Linked DNA regions of Homo sapiens: all the other regions are linked to region 1. The links are contacts of gene promoters, found by promoter capture Hi-C in blood cells and fetal thymus (Javierre and others, 2016). All regions are on one chromosome and are shown on one strand. The core of a region is centred on a gene start or on the middle of the fragment in contact, and the rest is flanking DNA. Distances in the headings are between cores, read along the strand shown.

The links. Contacts are between HindIII fragments. The CHiCAGO score rates a contact against its expected background, and 5 or more counts as called.
Region 2: a contact is called between a fragment that was not itself captured here and the fragment with the promoter of MNS1 in region 1, in 1 of 17 cell types (fetal thymus). The highest score is 6.1, in fetal thymus.
Region 3: a contact is called between a fragment that was not itself captured here and the fragment with the promoter of MNS1 in region 1, in 1 of 17 cell types (fetal thymus). The highest score is 8.1, in fetal thymus.
Region 4: a fragment that was not itself captured here is called in contact with the fragment with the promoter of MNS1 in region 1 in 1 of 17 cell types (fetal thymus); the score reaches 5.4 in fetal thymus.

The regions. Positions count from the first base shown.
Region 1 is chr15:56,462,636-56,469,469 of GRCh38, forward strand. It overlaps MNS1 (meiosis specific nuclear structural 1), which reads right to left and starts at 2,502. Exons shown (of 10, transcript NM_018365.4): 1 at 2,335-2,502; 2 at 1,391-1,612. The coding sequence starts at 2,337. RefSeq lists a silencer at 2,432-2,681 and an enhancer at 6,005-6,054. The HindIII fragment of the contact is 3,006 bases long and covers 343-3,348 here.
Region 2 is chr15:56,889,570-56,896,763 of GRCh38, forward strand. It overlaps TCF12-DT (TCF12 divergent transcript), which reads right to left. Exons shown (of 4, transcript NR_015419.2): 3 at 445-598. Among named protein-coding and RNA genes, the nearest start is that of LINC03065, 6.1 kb to the left of the region's middle. RefSeq lists an enhancer at 2,282-2,841. The HindIII fragment of the contact is 1,463 bases long and covers 2,365-3,827 here.
Region 3 is chr15:56,926,796-56,933,548 of GRCh38, forward strand. All of the region lies in intron 3 of TCF12 (transcription factor 12), which reads left to right. Among named protein-coding and RNA genes, the nearest start is that of TCF12, 12 kb to the left of the region's middle. The HindIII fragment of the contact is 744 bases long and covers 4,510-5,253 here.
Region 4 is chr15:56,864,550-56,872,211 of GRCh38, forward strand. No RefSeq gene overlaps it. Among named protein-coding and RNA genes, the nearest start is that of LINC03065, 19 kb to the right of the region's middle. The HindIII fragment of the contact is 3,931 bases long and covers 750-4,680 here.

The DNA.
Region 1 (6,834 bases), core at 1,252-3,751:
TGAAGGAGGGGCTGTTTTCAATTAAGAGGGACTTAAACAGACATAACCACCAAATACACCGTATGAATGTTCCTTGGATCTTGGTTAAAACAAACCAACTGTAAAAGCAGATTTTTGACACAATCACAGAAATGTGTTTATGGAATGGGTGAGATAATAGTATTATGGTACTCCATGTAAGAAAACATCCATATTTTGTTAGATGTACACTTAACTATGTAGGAAAGAGTTGGTGTGATACCTGGGATATTCTTTCAAATTAAAGAGAAAATAATAAGAATAGGAAAAATATCCAACCCCTAAGATGTGCTTTCTCAGAGTTAAAAAAAAAAATCATATCTAAGCTTTTGAATTTGGAACACAGAAGGGTGGATATCATTTTTTAAATTTGCTTTTGTTATTCTCCACAAAATCCTCCAAAATGTTTAACATACAGCAGCTACTCAAAAACTACTGACATATCAGAATACCTTTTATATATTTATGAGAATTCACTTCTATCATGTCTCAATTCTTATTAGTTTCCCTTTTCTACCACCTTAATCCCTTAAAATGTTGAGATATACCTAAGGGTTCATTTTCTACCACTTAATAATGTATACATTAATTTCAGTAAATTTTTTAAAGGCACCCCTAAATTTTTGTTTTTAGAAATTTATGAAAGGCAACACAATTGTACTTACATGAACAAAACTGGTAGTAATTACAGAGTTCATATTTATGTTAAAAAAAAATCTGAGTGCTTATTCTGTACCAGGCACTATTCCAAGAGTCTTGCATGTATTAACTCATTATTAAAACAATCCTAAGTAGGAGGTACTATTCTTATTCCCCATTTTATAGAAAAAGCATAAAAAATAAAAGCAGGCTGGGCGCGGTGGCTCACCCCTATAATCCCAGCACTTTGGGAGGCCGAGGCGGGCGGATCACGAGGTTAGGAGTTCGAGATCAGCCTGGTCAATATGGTGAAACCCCGTCTCTACTAAAAATTAAAAAATTAGCCAGGCGTGGTGTTGCGCGCCTATAGTCCCAGCTATTCAGGAGGCTGAGGCAGAAGAATCGCTTGAACCCCGGAGGCAGAGGTTGCAGTGAGCCAAGATCGTGCCACTGCACTGCAACCTGGGCGACAGAGCAAGACTCCATCCAAAAAAAAAAAAAAGTAAAAGCAACTTACTCAAGGGTCCGTAGCTAAGGTATAGCAGTAGTAGGATTCAAAGACAGGCCGGCTCCAGAAACCCAGGTCTTTACGATTACACCGAGCTGAGGCACAATCAGGCATCACTTACCTGCTGCTGTTGTTTATCTACTCATTTCCAGCATTAACAGCTGACTTTCATCGTTTCCAAGGTGCAAAATGAAAAAAAAAGTAACAATGAATAGTAAAACTTACCTTTTGAATGGCCTCTTCCATATCCAACTCAAATTGTTCATTTTGTAATAATCTGAGAAATTGCTTGCGCTGAACACGGTTATCATTTTCATTCTGCACCATTTGATTCCTGATTTGACTGTTGACGTTTTTTAGAGCTTGGACATGTAATTTTTTGCAGTAGTTTTCATCTACTAATTTCTGATGCCTTTCACTACAGCTCAAATTTCTCCTTTTGGAACCCTACGATGGAAGAAAAAAAAAGATGCATATTTTGATATTCCAAAATCTAATTTTAAAAAATGTATTGATATAAACCTTAGTAAGAAAGGATACGAAGAGCCTGGCTTCCTTCCTAAATTCAAAGGAGTATACCGAATAAAAAGTAAACGTGGTAAATATGTTCACATATCGATTAAATAGGTACTGTTATTATTACCTATTTTATAGATGAAACATGAAAAGTAACTTTACCCAAGGTTCTGCAGCTAATAAATAGCTGTGCTAGGATTAATCGCACCCTACAGACCCAGATCTTTACTACCACCAGGGAATTTCTCCTCCCCTCATTCCACCCACCACCACCACCACCACGACTACCACCACAGGGCCATAAAGTGCTGTTCAGAAGCTGGTCAGATTTTCCTAACATAAATGTAATAGGTCAATTCGCCGCTATTTATCAATTCGCTTTCTCCTACACTTTTATATCTACTTATTTCTTCAGAGGTTCTATTGGGCAGATTTAAAGATGTATTTAATACACTATGCGAAAAGTGCCAAAAAAGCTGGAAACCACCGCGAGCGTCCCTTCTAATAGCACCTGAAGCCTCCGAAAGCAAATACAAGTTCCCCAATTAATGACCAGATTAAGCACTTAAAATCCTTTTTTAGAAGCAGATGAGCGCCAAACTAGAATTAAATCAACAATAAACAAGTAGTTTCAAGTCCCCCAACTGGCTCACCATCTTGGCTGACGAAAAATACCCCCTCTCGTGGGACCGCGGCCACCACCTCCCGCCGCAAACGCAGCAGCCAGCAGCCCCAAGGAGCGCACCTGGCTGCGCGCGCTCGGGTGTTTACGCGGCGTCTTGGCAACGGTGGAGCTGCGCGCCCTCCGCTCGACCAAAAGTGACCCACGCAGAACGTGGCCTCCCATTGGACGCGATAAGATACAATCGGCATTGAGCTTCTTAGGACCAGGGCAGGAGGGCTACTTCTATAGGTCTAAACTAGAAAAGCGGGAAGTTCAGACTGTGGCCTGACCCAAGCACTTTGCAGTGGGCTAGGGAAGCTCGATTTCCCTCCAGCGGCCGAACTGTGGTTTCAGTGGGTTTGGGAGCCAAGTTCGGGACTGTGGAGACTGCGCACAGAGAAATACGCAAACTACTGCCTAATGCATGGAGCCGAAGGAAATTTCCACGCATGGAGCATCCCGCACACTAAGTGCCTAGTCAGCCAGGTCTCTGCTAGGGACGATGACTGGTTTAATCCTCAGCAATGGGAGTCCAGGTCGCTGTCCCCTTTGCTGGGTTGTGAGGCACTGAGGGTAGCACGAGCTTCCAGCAGCCTTCACTTCACCCCCCCGCCCCCCCCCCCCCCCCGCAGAAGCTGCTGGTAAATTTTGGGACTAAAATCTATGAGCCACATGAATCTTACTCTGCTATGTGGTCCAGGTACCAAGAGAGAGCACGTTACATGATGGCAGGATGTTGATCTGGTTCATTCCATAGGCAGGTTAGACACTAAAGTCCATTTTAAATGGGAAGTTTAAGAATGATAATGGATCAGAGAAATTAGATATACTGATTTTAGAAATGATACATTCAGAGAAATCTTGTCAACACTAAAATATTTGTATAAGGTGATTAGTGGTATAACTTTGTGTTATTCTAATTTGGAGTCCGTCTTCTGTAGCAATATGTCTGCTTAAAGATTAATAACAAATGGGACTTGCAGTTTCAGTGCTGACGTGTAAAAGCTTGGAAGTTGTCACCCCATCCTTACAACCAGATCAAAACAACTAAAAATCAGCGACTTCTCTTGGTTCCATCATACAACTGAGGTCGCTCGTCTCTCTGTCCTTTGGTCATTTATCCCGTGGTTGCATATCTATGTTGTCTCTAGTACTCCACTCATTGCCATCACTGTTTGAGAGAAATGGAGAGAAGGCGTAAACCTGCCCTCTGGGTGTTCTGTGTAAATTGATCTGGAATGGAGCAAAGCAGGCAGCCTGCTATAAATTTCTCTTCTTGGCATATCCATCTCCGCAAAGGGTTGGGCACTGTATAGAAGAGACAGGAGACAGGCATGGGTTCAGGGTTGAACAGGGTATAACACATTCAATAGAGTGTGGGGTTTAATTTGTTAATTCCTAATAGTGAAATAGTGACATTGCAAAGTATTTCAGCAAACATGTATGTTTTTTACTGTTTACTTCTCGAAATGAAGACTTTCGTCTCTAAAGGGAACTTCAGTTATAATTCCTCATTTCCAGTATACCCTTGGATATGGTAGAAGGATTCATATAATTTCATAGGTAATCTGAGAAAAAGATTTTTGGCCAGAATATTGACCTAAATCCAAGACAAATTTAATCAATTGTAACAATTAGCTGATTTTAACCTTTAAAAAATTATCCTAACAATTACTACATTTTTAATAGACTTTGCTCCTTTTTCGAAGCAGTTTTAGGTTTACAGAAAAATTGACAGAATACAGAGAATTCCCCGTCTCACCTCTCCTCCCCACCGCACCCATACAATTTCCCCTATTTTTAGCATTACATATTAGTGTAGTACATTTGTTACACTTGACGAACCAATATTAATATGATTAAGTTCGTAATTGACATTAGGGTTCACTCTTTGTTTTGTACAGGTCTATGAGGATTTGTTTTGTTTTTTTTCTGAGATGAAGTCTGGCTATGTTGCCCAGTCTGTAGTGCAGTGACATGATCTCGGCTCACTGCAACCTCTACCTCCCAGGTTCAAGCGATTCTCCTGCCTCAGCCTCCCAAGTAGCTGAGACTACAAGCAAATTTTTGTATTTTTAGTGGAGACGGAGTTTCACCAGTTTGGCCAGGCTGGTCTTGAACTCCTGACCTCAAGTCATACACCCACCTTGGCCTCCCAAAGTGCTGGGAGTATAGGCATGAGCCACTGCTCCCAGGTGGGTTTTGAGAAATACATAATGTCATGTATCTGGCCAGGAGTGGTGGCTTGCACCTGTAATCCCAGTTACTTGGGAGACTGAGGCAAGAAGGTTGCTTGAGGTCAGAAAATTGAGACATATTGTCATATATCTATTATTACAGTATCATACAGAATAGTTTCACTGCCTAAAAAGTCTCTGTGTTCTACCTATTCATTTCTCCCTCACTCCTTCCTCCCAAACCCCTGGGAACCACTAATCTTTCTATTGTTTCTATAGATTTGCCTTTTCCAGAATGTCGTATCTTTGGAATCATACAGTATGTAGCCTTTTCAGACCGGCATCTTTCCCTTAGCAAAACTCATTTAAAGGTTCCTGCAAATCTTTATGTGACTTGATAGCTCATTTATTTTTATCACTAAATAACATTCCATTGCATGTCATTATTAAAAAACAATTATTACATTTAAATATTATTTCTAGTAATAAATTATTACTATCATAAATGATACTTCATTGTTAAGGGAGGACTTATGCCTTCCCAACATTACAAGGAAGTCTTCTCGTTCATTTCCCTCTAGAAAACAACTTTTTACCTACAAGTCTAGACTAAAATGTCTAGAGTACTGAGGGGAAGGAGCTTTTCCTTATAATGGATGATGAATTATACTGATTAATGTCCCCCAGTAGTTACAATATAACAGGGTTGAACTTAACAGAGTTGCTGATCTGAAATAAAGCATGTTAATAGATGTGCACTGTTAAGTGTAGCTATACAGTAAAAATTATTTACGAAATGGTATTGCTTTATAAAATAAAGCAATTAGAACAAAACAATTTTTCTTTCGTTCAGAAAAATGCCCAAATCTAATCTAATTTGCTGCAGCTGGACACCACCTGCAGATGACTGTTGAAATACTCTGAACATTACACACTTATCTTTTAAATATTGATAATGCCATTCTTCATTTTCTCGACATGAAATCCCAGAGGGAACAATTATGCTAATAAACCTTAATGATTCTTGCAAATAAGTGATCAAACCAAATTGCTGCTGTTGATTTATATTAATGGATGCCTTTAGGATGAGATTTGCTAGTATGGTGCTGCCTCTTGAATCTCAATTCATCTTATTTAGCTGAAGAGGGTACATAGTTTGTTAAATAGATGAAGTGTTTAAAATATAATGTGCTTGTGCAGTTTCTGCACTTCATAATGTTCAAGTATTACCATCTTGCCTTGTGGCAAATCTGCATTTAATGGTTTCATTGTATATAACTTCCTTTAGTACTTTTTCTGTCTGTCATATGCAGTTAGGAAGTGACTACTTTCTGGTTGATGCAGAATAGGCTAACTTCCATATATTGAATTTGATTGTTTCATTAAGACAAGAAAATCTGTTTCTGGATATTTTAGCCACCATAATCTGGGAATCATATGGACTGTGTGATGATGTGATCAAGTGCTAAATAATTGTTAGGGGTAAAGAGACATGAAGAAATGGTTGGTGAGCTCACTGAAACCCAGGCTTAGTGGATGTCTTTCGTTCCTCGTCTCTCACTTTCACTTTTGCTCTTGCATCTTCACTATGTCTACAGGAATAGGAGATTGCTGACTTCATGAATTCTAGCATAACACTGAGAAAGAACTACAGAATTGTAATATATTGATTTCTAGGGTTGAGAACACTACACAGAAAGAATGCTTATTCATTGTAGATATGAATAAAAATTTACCTGGGTAATTTTATTGAAAAGCCACTATTTGTAAATGAGTAGTAAAATAGAAGACTGGCATCTACATATTATGTATATAGGAATGGAATACAGAATTTGTGATGTCAAATAACTTGTGATGTCATTAGGAATTTGTTATATGATGCACAGAGACTGTAATTTGGCTAGCGGTGAAGTAAAGATGACCATATTAAATTCATCATGAAGAGTGGAGGAATCCCCTTCTGAATTATATAAGCTCTTATTGGTAAAAAGAAAAGTATACATATATACCTATATTTATATAGAGATATATACATGTGTAAACTATGTTTATATGGATTTTTTTCATTTCTTAACTTTAAAAAGGTACCAAATTTGATGACATTTGATATATTTATGGCAATTTTTCTAGTGAAAACTTAACCAGACCAAAAATTTTAAACGACTAAAGGCACGATTTTATTTATTGCAAAATTTTCTAATTTAGCAAAAAAACAAAAACAAAACACCACAAAAATGGGTGATCTAAACATGCAGTGTTTAGGGAATGGCTAATTAAATTGTGGCATATCAGCTATGTACCTAGAGAAGTGT
Region 2 (7,194 bases), core at 1,846-4,345, 430 kb after region 1:
CTCAGCCTCCCGAGTAACTGGGACTACAGGCATGTGCCACCACAACTGGCAATTTTTTTATTTTTATTTTTTGTAGAGACAGGTTTTTGCCATGTTGCCCAGGCTGGTCTTGAACTCCTGGGCTCAAGTGATCCACCTGCCCCGGCTTCTCAGAGTGCTGGGATTACATGCGTGAGCCACTGTGCCTAGCCCTGACTGAATTTCAAGCTCTTGCCCCAGCCTAGTTCTCTTCTACTCTGTGAACCACTCCTCAGTCTACCACTTCCATTTTAGTTAGGTTTGCCCCAGAAGTACATTTATATTCACTCATTCCTATATGTATTTGTTTATGGATCTATCCTCAAATAATTTAGTATTTGATTCAGTAAGGATCCATTGGTTACAAGTGACATAAAATCCAACCCAAATTGGTGTAAAGTGAGAAGGGAATGTATTCTCACATACCTGAAAAGTTGAAGATAGTTCTGTTAGATATGGCTTGGCTGAAGAGTTCCAATTATATCATCAAGATTCAGATTCTCCACTTGAACCTGCACAGAGGTTGCAGTGAGCTTGAGATTGCACCATTGCACTCCAGCCTGGGTGACAGAGCAAGATTCTGTCTCAAAAAAAAAAAAAAAAGAGAGTCAGATTCTCCCCCACATGTTAGCGCTCTCCTCTGCTGTTTGCTTCATTCATTCCACAAATGAGCAACCAGAAGCTCCAGACCATCCTCACTACTAGCAAAGGTCAAGCGCCCATTCTTTTGTCAGCCAATCACTGTAGCCAAAAGAATGAGATGCTCAGATTGGCCTGGACTGATTCACAAGCCCATCCCAGGAGTTGTGTCTATCAGTAACATATGAATGGCACAGATGATTTTTACTTAAAATAGGGGTATGGTTATCAGAAGAAGCACAGATGTGCCCTGGGTAATGGAAACAGCAGACACAAACACATCCCTGGTATTTTATTGAGGTCTCCAAACATTCTTCCCCTACATATGCCTTCAATGATATCTATGGCTACTCAATGTAACAATGTTTTTTTACCACCCAAAATGTACTCACATCTAGGTCCTACAAATAACTCCAAGTCCAGGATAGTAAGGTGATATGCATGCCTCTATATCATAAAGCAATTTGATAAAGTTCTTCATGGCCTAGTAACCTAAGGCTGTATGATAAAATTAACTAGAAAATACTTAATATATAATGACAGAAAAAAAGAACAACTGCAATGAAAATGCATATTTGGAAATATGAATAATGACAAACACAAAATGTCTCTAATTCATAGCATATGTCATATCTTGCTAGACAGGAATAGCAAGGGCTTCCTAACATGAGAGGGGAGAAAGTTCTTTGATCAACCAATCTGGCTGCCATATGTTCTATTTCTGGAGGACCTCTCATTCATTGTTCCTCCATGGCTATGTCTGTAATGGACAATGGGAGGATAATCCTTTAGGGACTACACCTCTTCAGCATTCTCCTTCCTGATCTAGTGGGAATTGAAAAATCACTTCCTATGGCAAAGATAATTAGCTTTTACCACCCAAGAGTTGTGAACCTCTTCTGTTGTATACAATTGTTGCTGGGAAGTAGCTACCTAGCCAGGGGCTACATTTCCCAGCCTCCTTGTTAACTTTGGTAAAGTCACATGACTGTCTCCATTGGAATATGAGTGAAAGTGATGTGTACCACTTCTAGCCAATTTGGTTAAGTAGTAGGTATGCCTTTGCCAGTCTCTTTTTCCCTCTTCTGGCTGCACTGAAAGGTCTCTAAGAACCTGGAGGACATTAGAGCCATAAGATAGAAGGAGTCTGGGTAGTTGAATGATTTTGTAGAAGACCACCTGCTACTTAGGGGCACTGATGTTAGACTTTACAAAAGTGAAAAATAAATATCTATTGTGTTAAGCTTAAGTAACCTAGCCTTTCTTCTCCACACTTAGGATTTCTCTCACAGTACAATTTTCTTTAATTCTTTTTTTTTTTTTTTTTTTTTTTTGAGACAAAGTCTTGTTCTTGTTGCCCAGGCTGGAGTGCAGTGGTGCTATCTCAGTTCATGCAATGTCCACCTCTCGGGTTCAAGCAATTCTCCCACCTCAGCCTCCTGAGTAGCTGGGATTTCAGGTGTGTGCCACCACACCTGGCTAATTTTTGCATTTTTAGTAGAGACAGGGTTTCACCATGTTGGCCAGGCTGGTCTTGAACTCCTGACCTCGGGTGATCCGCCTGCCTCGGCCTCCCAAAGTGCTAGGATTAGAGGCATGAGCCACTGTGCCTCGCCCAGTTTTCTTTAATTCTTAGTAAACTTCTAGTCTATTTGCATCTGGCCAATTCCATAGGGGGAGAATTCCAAAGCCAGAGGGTTTTTTTTAAGCTTCAGTCTTTGAATCTAGATTTTCATCTGAGCATTTTTGTCTTTTAGTAATAGGCCTTGGTATTCTAACTTAGAGGCCTCTATTTTGGTTTCTGCCTGATAACAATTTGAAACAATAGCCACTGGGTTTGCAAGGGGAGGGAGTGATGATGGTGTGTGAGCTGGTGGTGGAGGGAGTAGAGTGGAATAACTATTACCTTTCTCAGCAGGCAGGAATTGCTTGAAAGAGGCCTGAGTGTATTAAGACTTCTCCCTAGTGCCAATGTTATCCATTCTTGCCTTCATTAACATTAACATCCTCTTGGGGCTTTTTCAACCCTTTATGGCTCCAGATTATTGATGTTTCTGTCATCTTTTATTGCAGCCTATAAGCAAAAATGTTCACTTGTAACAAAGTGGTATCTTTTCCTCTCTGCCTTAGATAAATCAATCTTAGTCCTAAGTTTGAGCCTTTCTTAAAGGACATTACTAAAAACTAACAAGTAATAGTTGATATATTTTAGTATCCGACCTTTTAACAACAGGCCCTTTTACATTTTATCCTTGATAGGCACATGTTCTGAATCCCACTATACAACAGGTGCCAGTTTAACCTACTGCTTTGGTATCGAAGTCCCAGCCTGATACCAATGAGGCCTCATCTGAATCAGCTACTTCAACATTTCTGGATCTTTCTGTTACTAATCCCCATTCCTGGTATCAATTTATGAATTGTTAGAGCTATTTTAGTGAAAAACTAGTTATATATTTAGCTTAAGGCATAGTTTGATCCAAGGGCTTAAGCAATGTCATTAGAATTCTATTTCTTTTCATCTCTTGACTCTGTCTTGTGTGCTGGCTTCATTTTTAGGCTCCATGTGGTGGCTGCTGACAGCTCCAGTTTACATAATCCTTACTGTTAGCAATCTCAGTGGAAGAGTGCATGCTTCCTTCCCACAGGTGCCAGCAATAGTCTTCTTACATTTCACTGGCTCTGATTGGGATATGTGGCTAGAGGAATCCAGTAGCTCAGGTCTGATTCATGTCATTAATGTTTTTGAAAATGAAGTTCACTCCACCCAAAAGACATTGACTGAAGTAACAGAAGAGGAAAATCAGGGGATGGTTACCAGAAGAAGGGTGAATGTTAGTAAGAGGCAAACAAACGGAGTATCTCATTAGATGACAATGTGTAGTGTTTCCTAATTGCTTCACATGTGTTGGTTTTATCTCCTTCACTGGGCTGACTGTAAGTGTCTCAAGAGCAAGATCATGTATTATATGTCTTAACAGTGCCACCTCAGCAGGCGGTCCTTAGATACTGGCTGATTTATGGCCTCTTCTTTTATTACTAAAGATGGCACACTCTAAGAAGGTAACAAGAGCTTAATAAAGGGATAATTTATAGAGGGATGGGAATGGTTAAGGGAACCAACAAGGAATGGTAAAGTACTTAAGGACTGGCAACAATGGGAGACCTTAAGCTTGAAGGAACAGGGGAGGGGAGCTATTAGTGGAACCCTGTAAGAGCTGTAGCTTGGAAAGGGATGCCTGACAAAGGCTGTTACTATAAATAAAGAAATACAGTCACTGCCAAAATGTGGCCCAGCAAAGGACCGGGGAATAAACACTTGTCCTCTTTTCCTCCCATCCTCCAAACTTCTGTTGGTACCTCCCATTGACCAAACCAGAAACCAGAGGGCTTGTGTGGCACAGTCTGTAGAGTTCAGCTGCCAGTAAAAAGCAAGACAAATAGGGTAAAAAATGGATCTGTAGGTGCAAATGGAAAATTGCCAGGACACCCCTCTTATATTCCTTGAGCAACCCTAAGTACAAGCAATTCCTATTCTGTAAGTATTAACCATATAGACTGGATTTATCTGGAAAATATAACTTTACCCTTTTCAACAGACTTGTTAAATATATAGCCAATGTGGTTTGATTTTAATAGCATTTTAAGACTTTAACATTCATGAATTCATAAAAAGTCTTTTGTTAGCCCATGTAGTTGAAAAGGTGTCGTCATTGTATTGATATGGAACTCCTCAAGAATATTGTACCTGGCAATCCATCAGAAAGTCCTGGCACAGCACTCGTCAGAGTGACAAATTTGATAAATATTTGATGATTTGAAGAATGATTAAATGAATAAATTAAAGCATTTCAAGCCAGAAGACTGTAAGTGGAAAACTAGATGGGTTTTCCTTGTTAGAGGTTGATAATAACTATACAACATCTACCAATCCTGTCCCGTAAAGCCTGACCATCAGCTTCCTAGCTGTTGATCAAGATCTTATCTCTTACAGAAAATAGAACCAAATAAATTTTGTCAATCTTCAGAAGTTTCATAATTAATTGTCATGCTAATAAATTCACTATAAAGTCAATTTCAGTTAAGGGACTATTATATTTCCTATCTAAAACTCGGTTTCCTCATGGAATTGTCACTCAGATGTAAGAAAAATAAATATACTTGCTTCGATATGTAAACTAGGACTATAAGTGCCAGTCCAAACTTTCTCTAAAAGATTTTATAGTTAAGCCCAAAATCTATACCGCTGTTCTTTCACAATCCTGTGTATATAGGACTTAAAGTCCTATACTTAAAGTCCTGTGTATGTAAGACTTAAGTTTACAAAATACTTTCTTATGTGGCACCATTCATTTATTCAAACAAAAAATACTACTGAGCACATGCTATGTGCCACACGTAATCCCTGCCCTCAAAGAACTTACAATAGAATAGTACTTCTTAAACTTTTATGAGACTGTGAATCACCTGAGAATCTTGTGAAACTACAGATTCTAATTCGCTAAGTCTGGGATGGGCCCTGAGACTACATTTCTAACCAGCTCCCTGGTGATGCTGATACCACTTGGAGTAGCAAAAGTCTAATGGATTTATTTAATCTTCACCACAACCACATCATAGGAAAAGTATCAGTGTTTTGTTTCTTATCTGGAGCACTTAACTATATACAAACACTGTGCTATGTCTTTTGTAGATAAACAATTCAGTTAGATATAGAGATATAGGCTTTTAGGAAACTCACTATACAGATGCTTCTCCACTTATGACGGGATTATATTCCAATAAACCCATTTTAAGTTGAAAATATTGTAAATCAAAAATGCATTTAATACAGCTACTGAATGTGATAGCTTAGCCTAGCCTACCTTAAACATCCTCAGAACACTTATACTAGCCTACAGTTGGGCAAAGTTGTCTAACACAAAGTCTATTTTATAATAAAGTGCTAAGTATCTTGTGTAATTTATTGAATACTGTACTGAAAGTGAAAAATAGAATGGTTGTATGGGTACTCAACAGTAAAATTTCTACTGAACGTAAATCACTTTTGCACCATCATAAAGTCAAAAAAAATCCTAAGTGGAACCATTGTCAGTCAGGGACTGTCTGTATAGCAGAAACAGCTAGTGTAAAAAATAGTTATAATTGTATTATTCTGTTTATATAAGATGTCCAGAAAGGGAAAATGTATAGAGACAGAAGGCAGATTGGTGTTTGCTGGGCTAGGGGTGAGAATGGTGATTAACTATAAATGATCATGAAGGATCTTTTGGGGGTGATGAAAATGCTTTTAAATTGGATTATAATAATAGCTGCACACCTCAATAAATTTACTAAAAGTAATTGAAATGTACACTTGAGTGAATTTTATTATATGTAAATTATACTTCAAAAAAGTTGTAAAATAATCATGTATAATGTGAAAAAATCCAATAATAAAAACATGTCTTAACTCCCTTTCACAGCCAAGGAAATGGAGCTCATAGAGGCTAAGTAATTTGCCCAAACTCATGTACATAACTAGTTGGTGACAGGGTTAGCATATAAATCTAGTCCTATTAAGCCAAAAGCAGTCGTTGTCAGAAACCTCTCCAGAGGAGGCATAGAAATGTATGCCAGGGAATAGATACCCTTCCACCTAGAGGGCATTTGCCTCTCTCTCTGAACCCTCTTCACTCTGTGAGGCAAAGATCAAGCTGAGTGGTGACCTAGGTGGCATTCCATAAACATAGTGCATCTGACGGGGCTGTGCAAGCCATCTAGCTTCTGGCAGACCCTTTGGCTTCAATGGGGTTTTTAGTTTCAAGCAACAAAAATCAATCCTGCATGATTTAGCGGCAAAGGAATTGGGTAGCCCACAGAATCATTATGTGAGTTGAGAACCAAGCTCAAAGTGGTGCAGCCAAGACCAATGCCCAAAATAATGCTGCAGAGGCAACCCAGTGAGAAGATTACTATTACTAATGCTGCTGAGCATGCTAGACTCTGCTCCTTTCTTGACCAACACCACTGCTTTGGGAACTCAATTTGGCCACAACTGCACTGTTGCAAGAGAAAGAGAACTGACTGCTATCCTTGCTTCTTTGGGTTATTAGTTTCTGACTCAAAGCCATGCAGGTGCTTCTAATTAGAGGAGGGTAGCTCAAGCACCTGAATCCAAGTTGCAAGGGGGGATGGTGAAGTGACTATGTGATGACTTCTATCAGTTTCTAGAAAGTGAGAATCAGGCTTTACTTCTAAGACTCACATACCAGTGAATTCTCCAAGCTTAGACAGTTCAGATGCTGGGCAGCTGGGAAAACAAAACAAAAACAAAAATTCCCCCCAAAACAGATATCCACTGCGTCATTGCAGAGTGGTCCATGGAGCAGCAGCATCAATATCAAATGGAAGCTTTTTAGAAATGCAGAATCTCAGACCGGGCGTGGTGGCTCACGCTTGTAATCCCAGCACTTTGGGAGGCCGAGGCAGGCAGATCACGAGGTCAGGAGATCGATACCATCCTGGCTAACACTGTGAAACCCCGTCTCTACTAAA
Region 3 (6,753 bases), core at 3,632-6,131, 470 kb after region 1:
ATCTATAAAACAGGACTAATAATAGTCGTTATCCTTATAAGGTTGTTAGGAGTGTTCAATGAGTTAATACATGTAAAGTTCCAAGAATAGTGCCTAGCACATAGTTAGCTGTGGTGGAGTAAATTGTTAGTGGTGAGACACTAAAATAAGGAAGGCATTTATTTACTTTGGAGGCCTTTATGCTAATCTAGGATGAGCTGGTGAAGGGTTAGATTTGGTGTTAGTGTAGGGAATAGGAAGGAAAAATAACAGAAGTAAAGGATTGTTAGAATTTGAGGGATTGGCTTTCTGTAGGTAAGAGAAATGACTCAAGATTGCAGTTCTGACATAATTGGAGGATAGTAGTGCTGGAGGTAGTAAAGATGCTGAATTGTTTTTTGCATTTTATATTTCACATGACCTGGGACTCTTCTGGCTAATTTGGAGATGTATGAGGGAAGCATGCTCGGTAAAGATGTTGGTTAAAAAGAAGACCGTCTTTTTTCTGCATATAAAGTTAATACATAGTCATAATTGAAAAGAAAATTAGAGAACAGAAAAAGCAAAAGGGGAAAAATTAGCTTTATTTCAGTATCCAGAGAAAATTGATTTATTTCCTTTTTGTCTTTTTTTCTTATAGTTCCGTTTGCAAAGCTGGTAACTTAATGTTAGTTCATTTATGTCCTGTTTTTTGTTTCACTTAATCTTCTACCATTAACATTTTCTCCTGTTATTAACTTGGCTTAAAATAGTTGCATGCTCTTAAATGGAATGAATATAGCATAACTTAACAAATCCATTCTTTTATTACTTGACCTTTATGGATTTTTGTTAATTTGCTTTTTGATATGATAAATAATGTGGTACTGACCACCTTTTTGTGTATGTATATGTTTTTGCCCACATTCTGATTTCTTTTGGTTAGGAGATGCAAATTTTGTTTTTTGTGCCTACAAGTTAATAATTAAAACTAATGAATTCCCTTAGGGAAATGAACACAGAGGGAGATAAATTATCAGGCCAGGGATTGATGTTAATGGTGGAGTTACATGTATAAAATTAGTGACTTTGGTTGATTATTTAATGTAATAATACAAAATTTTATTAGTATGTGAATGGAATGCATTATGACATTTGGAGCACATTTGTGCTTGTATACAAATGTGTTGTGTGGTGACTGGAGGGAATTCCTGTCATTCTTTGACCTGTGCTTATAGAAATGGAGTGGAGTCTAATTGGAGTCTTGTCAGTGAGAGAGCCCTTGAATTCCTGACTTTTTGTGAGAGAGACAATATAGTGTATTGGAAAGAATTGGGCTCAGGAGCCAGACAACTGGATTGGAATCGATGACTTGCAGCTTACTAGCTGGATGGCCTTAGGTGAGATATTTAAATAATCAGAGCTATACTTTTTTCATTTGTGAAAAGTGGGTAATAATGCCCACCTACAGAATCCTTGTGAAGATTAAATAAGGTTATCTATATATTTTTTTCCTATAAAGCTGCTTAAAAAATGGTAGCTGCTATTATTGTGGTACCTTCTAACTAGCATTCTCGGTAATACTAGTGATTATATTAGAAATCATTATAAAGCCAGTATTATAGCTAGTGTTTATTGAACTCCTATTATATACTAGGCATTGTGATAAGCAATTTATGGGCATTATCTCATTTTACTTTGGATAAAATGAAATGTTTTGTCTGTGGTGTTGGAAGTGAGGCAATACCCCTACAAGAGCAACAAGTCAGAGTTGCTTTTAGTGCCATAAAATTGTGTATATGAAGTCTGAGAAGTAATCAGGCATACAAGTAGTTTTGAAAAGTCATGAAGTACCCAGGAACCTTAACTTTTCTTTTTTAGTTGATTTATTCTTAATGTTATTATTTTGTAGACTATACTTTGTAGAGTGCAGAATAATGAAGAGAATGTGTACACCTTTTGAAAATCCTTTTCCATGCTTAGGCATCACCGCCACTTGAATGTAGCATTTTGTCCATATTCTTTCTCCAGCTACTTGAAATTCTTTCTGGAGTGAGGCATAGTCTAAATAATTAAGTAAAATAAAAATTACTTGACTGGAAAGGATAGAACGCCTGGGAACAGGTTGGAGAGAATGTTAAGAGTCTCTAGGGTAGAACGTATTCACTTTTTTTCTTAATGGCAGAGAAGAAGGAACATAAACTCCCTTGGTAGCCTGAAGCAGCACGTTGCAAGTGAGTGGAAGAAATTGTATCTTAAAAATTCATGTACATTTTATTTTCTACTTGCTACCACAAACATATCTGTAGTAATTTAAATATGTTTTCATTAATCATTGAGTAAAACTGAAGTTCTAAAGTTGCATCATTTTTGGGTTATGGCATTACCTTCCTCCTGTTTTGGTTTGTATCTTTGGGGATAAGGGTCAGGGTGGAATGGAATGCTGGCCAATCCTTAATGAGAAGCCCAACTCTAGAGCATATCTTTAGCTGTATTTTTTCATGCACCTTTTCTTGCTCCTATAGAAGCCTGTAAAAAGGGATCATTACATCAGGGGGAAAAATGGTTTTGGTAGAAAGAAAACTGTTATTTTCATAAACTGAAGCACAGATAGTTTTGTTAATAACATGACTGTTATTTGAAACTTTCTTGTTTCCAGCCAGATCATTCTGTAATTTTTAAAGATACCCTTGACTTGAAAAGAAAATGTAATTTTTATAGAGAGAGCTTTGGTTTTTTTTTGTTCCATGTTTAAAATGTGCTCTCATGTGTTCCAGGTTAAAAATGTGCTCTCATAAAGACCATGGTGAGTCATCCAAGCTACTGTAAGCTGCTTGGGGACCTAAAGATCACATTTAAAGATCCCACAGAAAAGAAAATGCATTAGAGATTGGTTACTAATTTTTATTGCAGTGGGTGGTGACTCAGGGATGAAACCTTCAAAATAATATAATAAAACAATTTGAGATAAGGTACAGGACAGAAAATACTACCTTTTTTTCCCTTAAAAAACCACTACTACCATAACTTACTGTATTTTGGTTATTAAAATTGGGATAATTTGGCCCAAGATGTCATTTTATCAGCTCTGTGGTGTTAGGAAGGTGCCTGAATTTGAACTGAGGGAGTTTCTCTAAATTTGTGGTAATCTATGGAAGATCATTCTAGTTGCCAAATGGAAGTCTCTCTGGAGGCGGCCTCCCTCAAAAGTTGTCAGTGTATTTGCTTCTGTTAGTTTTGCCTGTGAGCTATTTCCAGGCTTTAAAAATGAACAAGATTGACTCATAATTACTCTTTCATCACTTCATTGGTAGCTGATACAGTGAACACAGGTTGGACTTAATATAATCATGGCTACTCCAGTCAGTGAGTGAATGTGCTGCTGCTGTCGGCAAGAGTTGTGAATGTTGGTTGGGCATGGAAGGTATCTCTGCTGGGAGGGAATTACAGTCATCCAGCTTCTTGGTCCCAGAGGCATATGTTGTTGTTTTGAGGTGGTTGGGGATGAATAAGTGGTTGGTTTGTACCTTTGGAGTGTAAAAAATGCTAGGCTCACTTTAAACAGTAGCGTGGTTTGACCACAGGTCAGTTTAGAAAATCTGAGCTTATATGGGCACTTGTGCCAAGGGTAAGAATCTTTGAGTTCTCCTGCAGGATCCTTTTAGGTTTTTCCTATTTGGAAACCCCACTATATCTAGCCAACTTTGTCATGTGGTCCGGAGGCCCATTTACTTAATCTACTTGGTACTGACATACTCGGATTTTAGAAAATGTTTTTTAGTGTTATTCTCAGTTGGGAATAGAGTTAAAGGGAAAAGTGTTTCATGTTGAATCTCTTGATAGGAACATATAAGTTAAAATGATTGTAACTTTCCAATTAGGTAGATAATTAGAGGCATTGCAAGACTGTTCTAAGTATCCTTAATATCTTTTATCTAAGTATCAGCTAGTTTTTTTTTTATTCTAGGTGATAGCATATTTTATTTGTCAAGATCCCCTTTTCCCAGTTAGAGATCCACAGTCCCTTATCTGCAGTTTTGAAATCCAAAAAGATCTCAACCACAGTTAACTTCAGCATGAAGTATTTTGATGGCTAAATCTGATCTTATCTGAAGGGAGGCCATTGACATTCTCTATTTTCCTAGTTCCTGTGTGGTTGCCAGTAGCTGATTTGTAGCGTGTGACATATATACCTATATACTATGTTTCCTTTCTAAAATCTGAAAAACTGAGTTCTAAAACCCACCTGGCCCCATGGATTTTAGAAAAGGTATTATGGAGATCTGTCTCTCTCTCTCTCCTCCTCCTCTCCCTCGTTCCTTCACCCCCCACCCCAGGGATTGTTTTCAACTCACAGTAAGAACTTTTTGTTCTCAAAAGTCTCAACTAGAGACTTCATCATTTTAAATACAGAAAAAAAAATTGTGGTGGACTTGTTTATATAAAGCAAATTCTTCTTGGAATATAAGCTTTTCAGGCTGAGTTTTATTCTTTGAGTAGTCCACCCAATACATTGATTTAGGGAATCAAGATCTGTTTTGAGGAGAGAGAAGCTTTCTCATCTTTTGGGCCAAGGAGTGTGCTGATATTTCTCTGGTCAGTTAAAGCATGCAGAGAAATTTTCAGGGTAAAAATCAGGAGTGTAGAATTCTTTTCATTTGGTCCCCATTTTGTATATATAAGAAGCATTATATGATCTCTACCATAAGGAAGCCTCAGCCCTGACCATACTTTTTTGAATTTTTACTGAGAGCAAACAGTTAAGAAAATCCTAATCATCTTCAAGAAGAAAAAGTAGAGCCAAGATACTTTGCTGTAGGGAACAGACAAAATCAGTCTTTGGTAAACTTTATTCTTTCCTTTTATATTGGTGAAAAGTTTTCATAGATTAGTAGCATGATGCTTATTCCTGAAATATACTCATTACAGGCATCTTAATTAAAAACAGGTTATGATTCTGTTGAGTGTAAAATTTTCCTCAGGAGCTTGTTATTGGCTCAGACCCACTACTGTTTAATATAAACTAAGAAAGTAGTAATGAAGTGTGTAATAAACTAGTTTGCTGTAGTCTGTTTTGAGAGGTAGACCAGTAAGCCATTGACTTTTCTGGTGGCTTTGCAAGCCTGTTGCTTGTACTGTTGCTAGTGTTATTGTCTTAAGAACCATGATACAATGTTGAATAATTAAATCCACTTAAAGTTTGTAGGGGTTTGAGATGCTGTACTGCAGGAACACAAAACATGCCATAGTGCCAGGGTCTCTCTTGCCTTCATATTTGTATAATCCCTCTTCTCAAGCTTAGGAACAGTGCCTGTAGCGAGCAGACTCTATTCTCACTGAGTTTGACTCTGGAGACTTGCCAAATAAGTTATAATAGCAGTAGGACTTTGTCCACTGAATGATTGGGAGAAGGGGAGGAATCTTATTGTTTTAAAACAAAATCAGTGATGATAAGAGTGCTTCATAAATATTTACTCATATGCTATTTACTTCATAACTCTTGTAGGAAGTTGGTAACTGTTCATTTTACAGAGGAAATAGAGAAATCAACAGTGAAATACATTTGCCTGTGGTTTCTTATTGCCCCTCAGAAGTAGCAAACTCTAATCAGTTGTAGTTGCACCTGCACTGATACCAATCTACAAGAGCATGGTTTGTCTTGAGGAGGAATTTAGTATCTCTAGAAATCTTTGAAATTTGTTATAATAAGAAGTCTTATCTGAAGCCAAGGTGACAAGAAGAAAAAAAGAAGTCTTAAATGGGGTACTGTTGATATTCTCCAAAAGTGCTTCAAGATTTATTTATTTAATTATTATTATTATTATTATTTTGGGAGACAGAGTGTGGCTCTGTCGCCCAGGCTGGAGTGCAATGGTGCAATCTCAGCTCACTGCAACCTTTGCCTTCCGGGTTCAAGCGATTTTTGTGCCTCAGCCTTCCAAGTAGCTGGGATTACAGGCACCTGCCACCACACTTATTTTTGTAATTTTTGGTAGAGACAGGGTTTCACTGTGTTGGCCAGGCTGTTCTTTAATTCTGCCCACCTTGGCCTCCCAAAGTGCTGGGATTATAGGTGTGAGCTACTGTGCCTGGCCGATTTATTTTTATTAAGGAGAAAACAGTATAATTAAAAGCCTCCATAAAATAGTTAATTAAGGACTTTATTTTTAGTATTTCAAGACATTAAATATAAATAGCTACAACCTCAGATAGCTTTATAAAAGTGTAATTCTTTTTTTGTGTGGTCTTATTGTTAAGCTGTCTTTAGACTTTGTGAGTTGGGAAGAATATGAAATTTGATAGTTGGAAGATATTGGAATATTCACAGCTACCATTTAGTTGAGGTCAGAGAAAAGAATGGTTACTTCATAGTATGGAAAATTTTTATTATTTCCCCTTTTTCAAAGATTTAGTGTTTAGTTATAAAAACAAGTTAAAGTGGATGGAAAATATTTATTCCAAAAGTAGTTTAAAAATGTTATCAAACATACAGAAGATACTTTAATAGAACAGAACTTTTAATTCATTAAATGAAAGGTAATAATGCTAATATTGAAAGGGTTAAGATTAGTTCATTTTGTATTTTTATTTACTTAGAAGTAGATTGGGCTGTTGTTTTGTTAAAGAGCATCTGTAGGTATTTGAGCGAGTACCTACTAATGCTCTGTTTTTTGTTCTGTGTAGAATGGTTTGTTTAAGGTAGTGGAAAATAAAGATACATTGTGGTATATTTGAAAGAGGAGCAGTTTGGAGATTCGAAGTCTTGCTTTAGTGTTGGCTTTATTATTTACTAGA
Region 4 (7,662 bases), core at 1,465-3,964, 400 kb after region 1:
AATTAGCAGGGCATGATGGTGAGTGCCTGCAGTCCCAGCTACTTGGGACGTTGAGGCAGTAGGATCGCTTGAACCCAAGAGGCAGACGTTGCAGTGAGCTGAGATTGCATCTCAAAAATAAAACAACAAAACAAAAATATGTATATCTATTAAAGAAACAAAATTTTCAGTTAAAAACCTTCCCACAAAGAAAACTCTGATCCAGATGGCTTTATTGGTGAATTCCACCAAACATTTAATGAATGTTACATTCATGAATGAACAGTTAATGAATAATTCTAATTCTTCACAAATTTCCAAAAAATTGAAAAGGAAATACTTTCCAACTAATTCTGTGAGTTCTCCATTACCCTGATATTAGAACCACACAGACACATAACGAAAAAAGAAATTTACAAACCAATATCCCTCATGAACACAGATGCAAAATGCTAAACAAAATTTAGCAAATCAATCAATATTTAAAAAGGATAAAACATCATGACTGAGTTAGGTCTATACCAGGAATTCAAAGTTGTTTTACTTTCAAAAAAATTATATAAGACACCATATAAACACTAATTTAAAAAGAAAAGCATATGATAGTCTCAATAGACACGAATAAAGCCTTCGAAAAAATCCAACATCGGTTTCTGATTAAAAAAAACTCTCAGCGAACTAGGTATAAAAGAGAATACTCAATCTAATAAACAGCATCTATAAAAACAAAAACAAAAACCTACAGCTAGCATCATACTTGTAAAAATTAAAGCTTTCCTCTAAGATTGAGAAAAAGACAAGTATGTCTGCTCTCACCACCTCCATTAAACATTTAACTGGAGGTTGTAAGCAAGAAAAAGAAATTAAAGGCATCCAGATGGAAAAGAAAGAAGTAGAACTGTCATTATTTGAAGACAACATGACCATCTATGTAGGAAATCCTAAAGAATCTACAAAACAGGTACTAGAACTAATAATGAGTTTAGCAAGCATGCAGGATACAAAATTAATGTATTAAAAAATCAATTGTATTTCTATTTACCACTAATGAACAAGTGAAAATAAAAAAAAATTAAAACAATATCATTTATAATAACACCAAAAACTAGAAAACATTTAGGGATAAATCTGACCAAAGATGTAAGAATCCTGCATACTGGAAACAACAAAACATTACTGACACTGATTAAAGAAAATCTGAATAAATGAAGAGATATACCTTTTTCATGCTTCAGGAGGCTCAATATGGTTAAGATGTCAATTCTTCCCAATTTGAGCTGTACATTCATTTCCATCTCAAGCAGGCCTTTTGGCAGAATTTGACAGGCTGATAATAAAATTCATGTGGAAATGCAAAGGATCTACAATCGCCAAAACAATTTCAAAAAAGAACAAAAAATTTGGAGAGCTAATGCTACCTGATTTCAACACATATCGTAAAGCTACAGTAACCAATACAATGTGCTATTGATAATAAAGATTGACAAAGAAATCATTGGCACAGGATGGAGTCCAGAAATAAAACCATGCATACATATATAGACAACAGATTTTTGACAAAGGTGAAAAGGCAATTTAGAGGAGAAAGTATACTGTTTTGAACAAATGGTGCTAGGACATGGAAGAAATATATATAGCCTTGAATTGTAGAGAGTTTCACAGGGCATGTCAGATTTGGCAGATTGGGCTACATAAAAATTTAGAATTCATGTATGGAAAAGATAACCTAAACTAACTAAAAGATATGCAATATATCTTTCGAAGACAAGCTATATTTAAAAGATATACCAACAGGCCAGATGGCATGGCTCACCCCTGTAATCCTAGCACTTTGGGAAGCAGAGGCGAGTGGATCACATGAGGTCAGGAGTTCCAGATCAGCCTGGCCAACATGGTGAAATCCCAGCTCTACTAAGAAATACAAAAAATTAGCCAGGCAAGTGGTGCATGCCTGTAGTCCCAGCTACTTGGGAGGCTGAGAAAGGAGAAAGGAGAATCACTTGAACCTGGGAGGCCTGAGGTCGCAGTGAACCAAGATCGCGCCACTGCACTCCAGCCTGGGCAACAGAGCGAGACTCCGTCACAAAAAAAAAAAATTAAATTCCATAATCTATCAAGAGTTCCTGCAAATTACTAAGTAAACGACAAAGAACATTAACAGACAAATCACTGGAAAAAATATAAATTTCAAATAAACCAATAAAAAGTTGTTCAACATCATTAATAATTACAGAAGGCCAATTATTTTCCCACAATCTTATTATTGAAACTATTAAATGTGGATAACACTCCCCCAAATCCAGACCAGTTATTTAATATGTTTTAGGAGTAGGTTGTCACTTCTCTAGAAACAGGAACAGAAACATGATCAAACTTCTGCTTACATTTGTCAATATGACCTTGAGAAAAGAGTATCAGCGCACTGCATTTCCATGCTCCACTCTGGGCAACAACGGAGGTAAACAAGATAGGCCTCCAGTCCTTGTCAGCTGTAATGTATTGTCTCAGATGGACTTAAAGGCATATTTTCTCTTAATTCAAGGGAAGATGACTCACCTTTCCAGAGTGGTCTGTCAGTGACATGCTATGCTAGAGACTTTGCATTAATTATTTCTTTTAATCTCTACCACAACCCTGCGAGGTTTTTATGGATGAGAAAACTGAAGACGCTATGTTAGCATTCCCCAGCCTTTTTGGCACCAAGGGCTGGTTTCATGGAAGACAATTTTTCCACAGATGGGGGAAAAGTTTGTCCATGGCCCAGGGATTGAGGACCCCTGCTCTACATAACCAGCGATATACTTCAGTGTCCATGTTTCTTTCCACTGCATCCTAAAGAAAGGAGTTCTCCTCTAGGTGGGGGGACAGACTAGAGTGTGAAAAAGGCCCTAAAAGACACTCAATAGATCAAAAGTATAACAATAAGTAAAAGTTCCACATAAAATGCTGAAAACAATTTTAACCTTGCATATGTCTGTGATAAGCACTGATGTTTATGATGTTATTTTGTGTTGCAATTTTAAAGTGAAAAGAATGCTGGTGTTGGCAATAGGCAGACCTGGTCTCAAACCCCAGCTCTGCTGCTTACCAGTGGTGTAATCTTGGTCAAGAACCTGATTCTCCACACTGAACTCTGACTTTACATTGTCACTATTGAGTGCAATGTATAATCCTATGATAAAGTTAATCATCATTTGACTTGTTTGGGGGTTAGTTCCTGTGACTATCTTTTCAAACAATATTGAAAATTGTGAGCAGCTGTAAGACAATCACTTTGTGTCACTGACAACACTTAAAAAGTTACTTGTACATTAAGAGTTTAACACACATATTTATTAGATGAATATTTTATTAAACCCAAGACAAGATAGGTTGACAATACTAAGAGCTGACAAAGACAGGGGAAGGCAATCTGGGTAGGAGAACAATTTGCCAGTGATTACTAAAAAAAGTGCTATAAAGAATAAGACCCAAATGTCTGCCATACGTCCTTTCACACCTTATTTCATGCCTCCCCAACCCAGTACCTTGATCACTTGACTTTATTTCAATCCTTTGGATTAAGAGAAAACAACTTAAGAACAGGGATTATGTTTTATTCGTCCTTGAATCTTCAGAAATAGCATAATAAGGTGCTCAGTAGATGACTGTTGAAGTGAACTGAATGGTAACTTAAGAAGCAAGAGATTATTATATGCAGAATATTCATCTCAAGAGGGAAAGCTAGTTTTATGTATTTTCCATTGTGATTCTTTTGTAAGTAGGGAAATTCTATGCCAAGGACTGAAAAAAGCACATCATAAATCATGGTTCAGTCCATCTGAGTACTGTTTTAATTTTAGCGCAGCATGTGTTGAACTTCAGTGCTCTTGATTTACACATTCCTAATGCAAATATATCAAATTTTCAATTATTCAAGGGTGAATTATCAAATTTGTAGATTAGCTAGGCTTTATGCTTATTCTACTCCCTTTAGGTACATAGGCCTTTGGGCGCCTTCTCCTTCTTCCTTGTGCTTGAATGGCAGTGGGATTAACTCATTAAGAATAAAGGAAACATCTGTGTTGCTTAAATGACAGTGAGGATCTTGTAGAAACTCAGTACCACCTGTATGTAGTTCTATTACTGGTCATAAATTCAAATAAAACTGTCACAGTATTCAAAATTCAATGGATATTTCTTGAAGTAGTTCATCAGAGAACAATTTTTCCTCATGTCAGAGAAAGAACTAAATGAAGCATTTTATTTACAATAATAAAAAATGTTATATTGATTCAAATCACCGGCAGTGTCCACAGACACATGACAGAAAGCGGACATACACGTCGTGGAGATATTTGGCCAATCACATTTATCCCAGCTTGACTATGTCTTTCATTTAGTGACAGGAAATCTACTATCAGCCCCTATCACTTCAATGGTCAATTAATTAAATATTTTGATTCTATTCACATCCTTTGCTTTGAGCCACTTGTAATCATCTCATAGAGGGAAGAAAAAGCAATCATGTTTATAAATTATGAGCATTTTCAACACAGTTGAATGTAATTTATTCTTTACTTCTTACGTTTTTCTATCACTATTAATACTTCATGTAGGTGTGAATATAAACCTTGATGCACACAAACACATAACTCCCAGTTGAATGTCAACACCTTCAGAAAGAAAAAAAAAAGACTTGTATAAGGAAAACAATGGATAAGCTTTATGTGTGTGTGTCATACAGTGAATGTATATAACTACACATACATTCATGCATTAACGATAGGGATGCATTCTGAAAAATCCCTGACTAGGTGATTTCGTCATTGTGTGAACATCATAGAATGTATTTACACAAACCTAGATGATATAACCCACCACACACCTAGGCTATATGTTATAGCCTATTGCTCCGAGGCTTCAAACCTGGACAGCATGTTACTGTACTGAATACTGTAGGCAATTATAACACAGTGTAAGTATTTGTGTTTCTAAACATAGCTAACCATAGAAAAGGCATAGTTAAAATGCTGTATTATAATCTTATGGGACCACCACCCTAAACACAGTCCACAGTCCATCATTGACTGAAATGTCATTATGCACACATAACTTTACGTGAAACAGAAAACAATGAATTGTGAAGAAAATAAACAAAGTAATTGAATGGTGGGATGCAGAGCTACCATGTATAGCTGCATGGATTGTCCACTGCACAATTTCAGGAACAGCAGTCACTCTGACTACCAGGTGGATGGCGCCCCCTGGAGTTGTACAATATGGCAGTCTTGGTGAACTTTTTTTCTTTGGGATTTAAACATTTGGGTTTATCAAAACGATTAGACTGTGACCACAGCTTCAGGTCACACTTCCTAATCTCCTAGCATCCTTAGAAGTGACTTGTTCTCTCACAAGCTGATGTGGGAAGGAGAAAGAAAAGTGGAAAGGATAGGAAAATGTATCTATATAGAGGTAATTTGACAATAACAATAGCTAATATTTTTTGGAACTTTTATTAGGTGCCAGGTGTGGTTCATCGCACTTTGTACACATTAACTCTTTATTTAATTTTTTTTTTTTCTTTTGAGACGGAGTCTCGCTCTGTCACCCAGGCTGGAGTGCAGGGGAGCTATCTCGACTCACTGCAAGCTCTGCCTCCCGGGTTCACGCCATTCTCCTGCCTCAGCCTCCTGAGTAGCTGGGACTACAGATGCCTGCCACCATGCTTGGCTAATTTTTTTTTTTTTTTTGTATTTTTAGTAGAGACAGGGTTTCACCATGTTATCCAGGATGGTCTCAATCTCCTGACCTCATGATCCGCCCACCTCGGCCTCCCAAAGTGCAGGGATTACAGGCGTCAGCCACTGCGCCCGGCCTGTACACATTAACTCTTAATCCTTATAACCACCCTAGTGGTAGGTACTATTCTTATCCACATTTCACAGATAAGGGAATTGAGGCTCAGAAATGTTAAATAACTGGCCCAAGACCATGTTGCAGTAAGTGGGGAAGATGTCAGGTAGGAATGAGAGAGCTGATAGACTCTTCTCCTTTGCAAAATTGTGACTATCAATTGAAGGTCAATTAGAGGCTCCTTTTATTTAAATTTTTATTTGCTCTTCCTAATATAATTATTTTTATGGGAAAAAGCAGTCTCTTAGGAAGATCTATCTTCAATCATAAAGTCAGATTTGGGCCAAGTGCAGTGGTTCACGCCTGTAATCCCAGCACTTTGCAAGGCCCAAGCAGGTGGATCACTTAAGCCCAAGAGTTCAAGACCAGCCTGGGCAATATGGCAAAACCCTGTCTCTACCCCCACCAAAAATACAAAAATTAGCAGGGCCTAGTGGCGCACACCTGTAGTTCTAGTAACTTGGGAGGCTAAGGCAGAAGGATCGCTTGAGCCAGGAGGCAGAGGTGGAGGTTGCAGTGAACCAAGGTCGCACCACTGCACTCCAGTCTGGGCACCAAGTGAGACCTTGTCTCAAAAGAATATATAAATAATAAAAATAAAATCAGATTTAAGAATGAAAGAAAAGTTCCAAATATAATTACTGACAAAATAATAATAAATCTCCAGAATAAGCCCCCAAATTAAAGTATAAAATGTCTAGGATTACATTTACATTTAACACAAATGCTAAAGGGATAAAGAATAATTCTTAACTGATTAGCTAGCACTTTCTGCAGATGTCTAGCTTCTAGAATGAGTAAACAGAAATGTTAGGAGATGAGAAAACATCACAGAGGCACTGATTAAAAAAAAGAAAAAAAGAGCAGTAAATAAACATAGGGAGAAGCAGTCACAAGAACTTCCACAACTAAAGGAAATGGGAATTGGGGTAGGCCATGGTTGCTAATACACAGCACAGGAGACCAAGAATATTTCTATAGTGAGTCATCGGCTTTTGTATACCTAATTGATTCCTTGTTTCATAACTTCCAGATATCTGAATTTCTACACATTCAACTTACTATATAGAATCATATTCATGTTGAAATGGCATCAACTTTGCATGAAATTTTAGTTTGAAAAAGCAAATGAATAAAATTATGATGTCAAATGCAGTAAGAAATTGCAACAATGGTCTTTGTGTTTTTGCTCTCACTGCCCACTCCAATGCTGCTGTGTTCAAATAAATTATTTCAGCAAATAAAATATTTAGAGCTATAAAGGAATATGGTAAAGACAAAGATAAAATACCATTTGTAATATGACTACTATTAAAGCTCTGGCTTGCAGATTGCTGGCAAATAGTCTATTTTCCAGCTTGTCAAAACAACCCATTCTCTGAGCATGTTCAGAGCTTGCAGAGGTCTTCATTTATACCAGAATGGGAATTGGAGAAAGAAAAACATTTTGAAAATGATCTGCAGAATACATTGTTTTGTAAAATATCTAATCAAATGAGAGCAGCCTGTCAAAGTCAAGAAATGTTACTTACTCGGCTACAATAGGTATGATGCAGAACTGGCCACCCACTCACCAGCTGCAGAAAATGAATTTAAAGTAAGCTGGTCATTTGTCCTCAGACAAAGTACAACTGCCAAATATTTTATCCCAATTTGTCATCCCTGCTCTATTCCAGTGAATTCCATCAATCCAAGGCCAGTCACAGTGTTTAGTCTCTCCAGAACAATAAGCTTAACCCAACAGGTTTATTTGTTTAAGTCATCTGGTGAAATCTTTTAAATTACGCC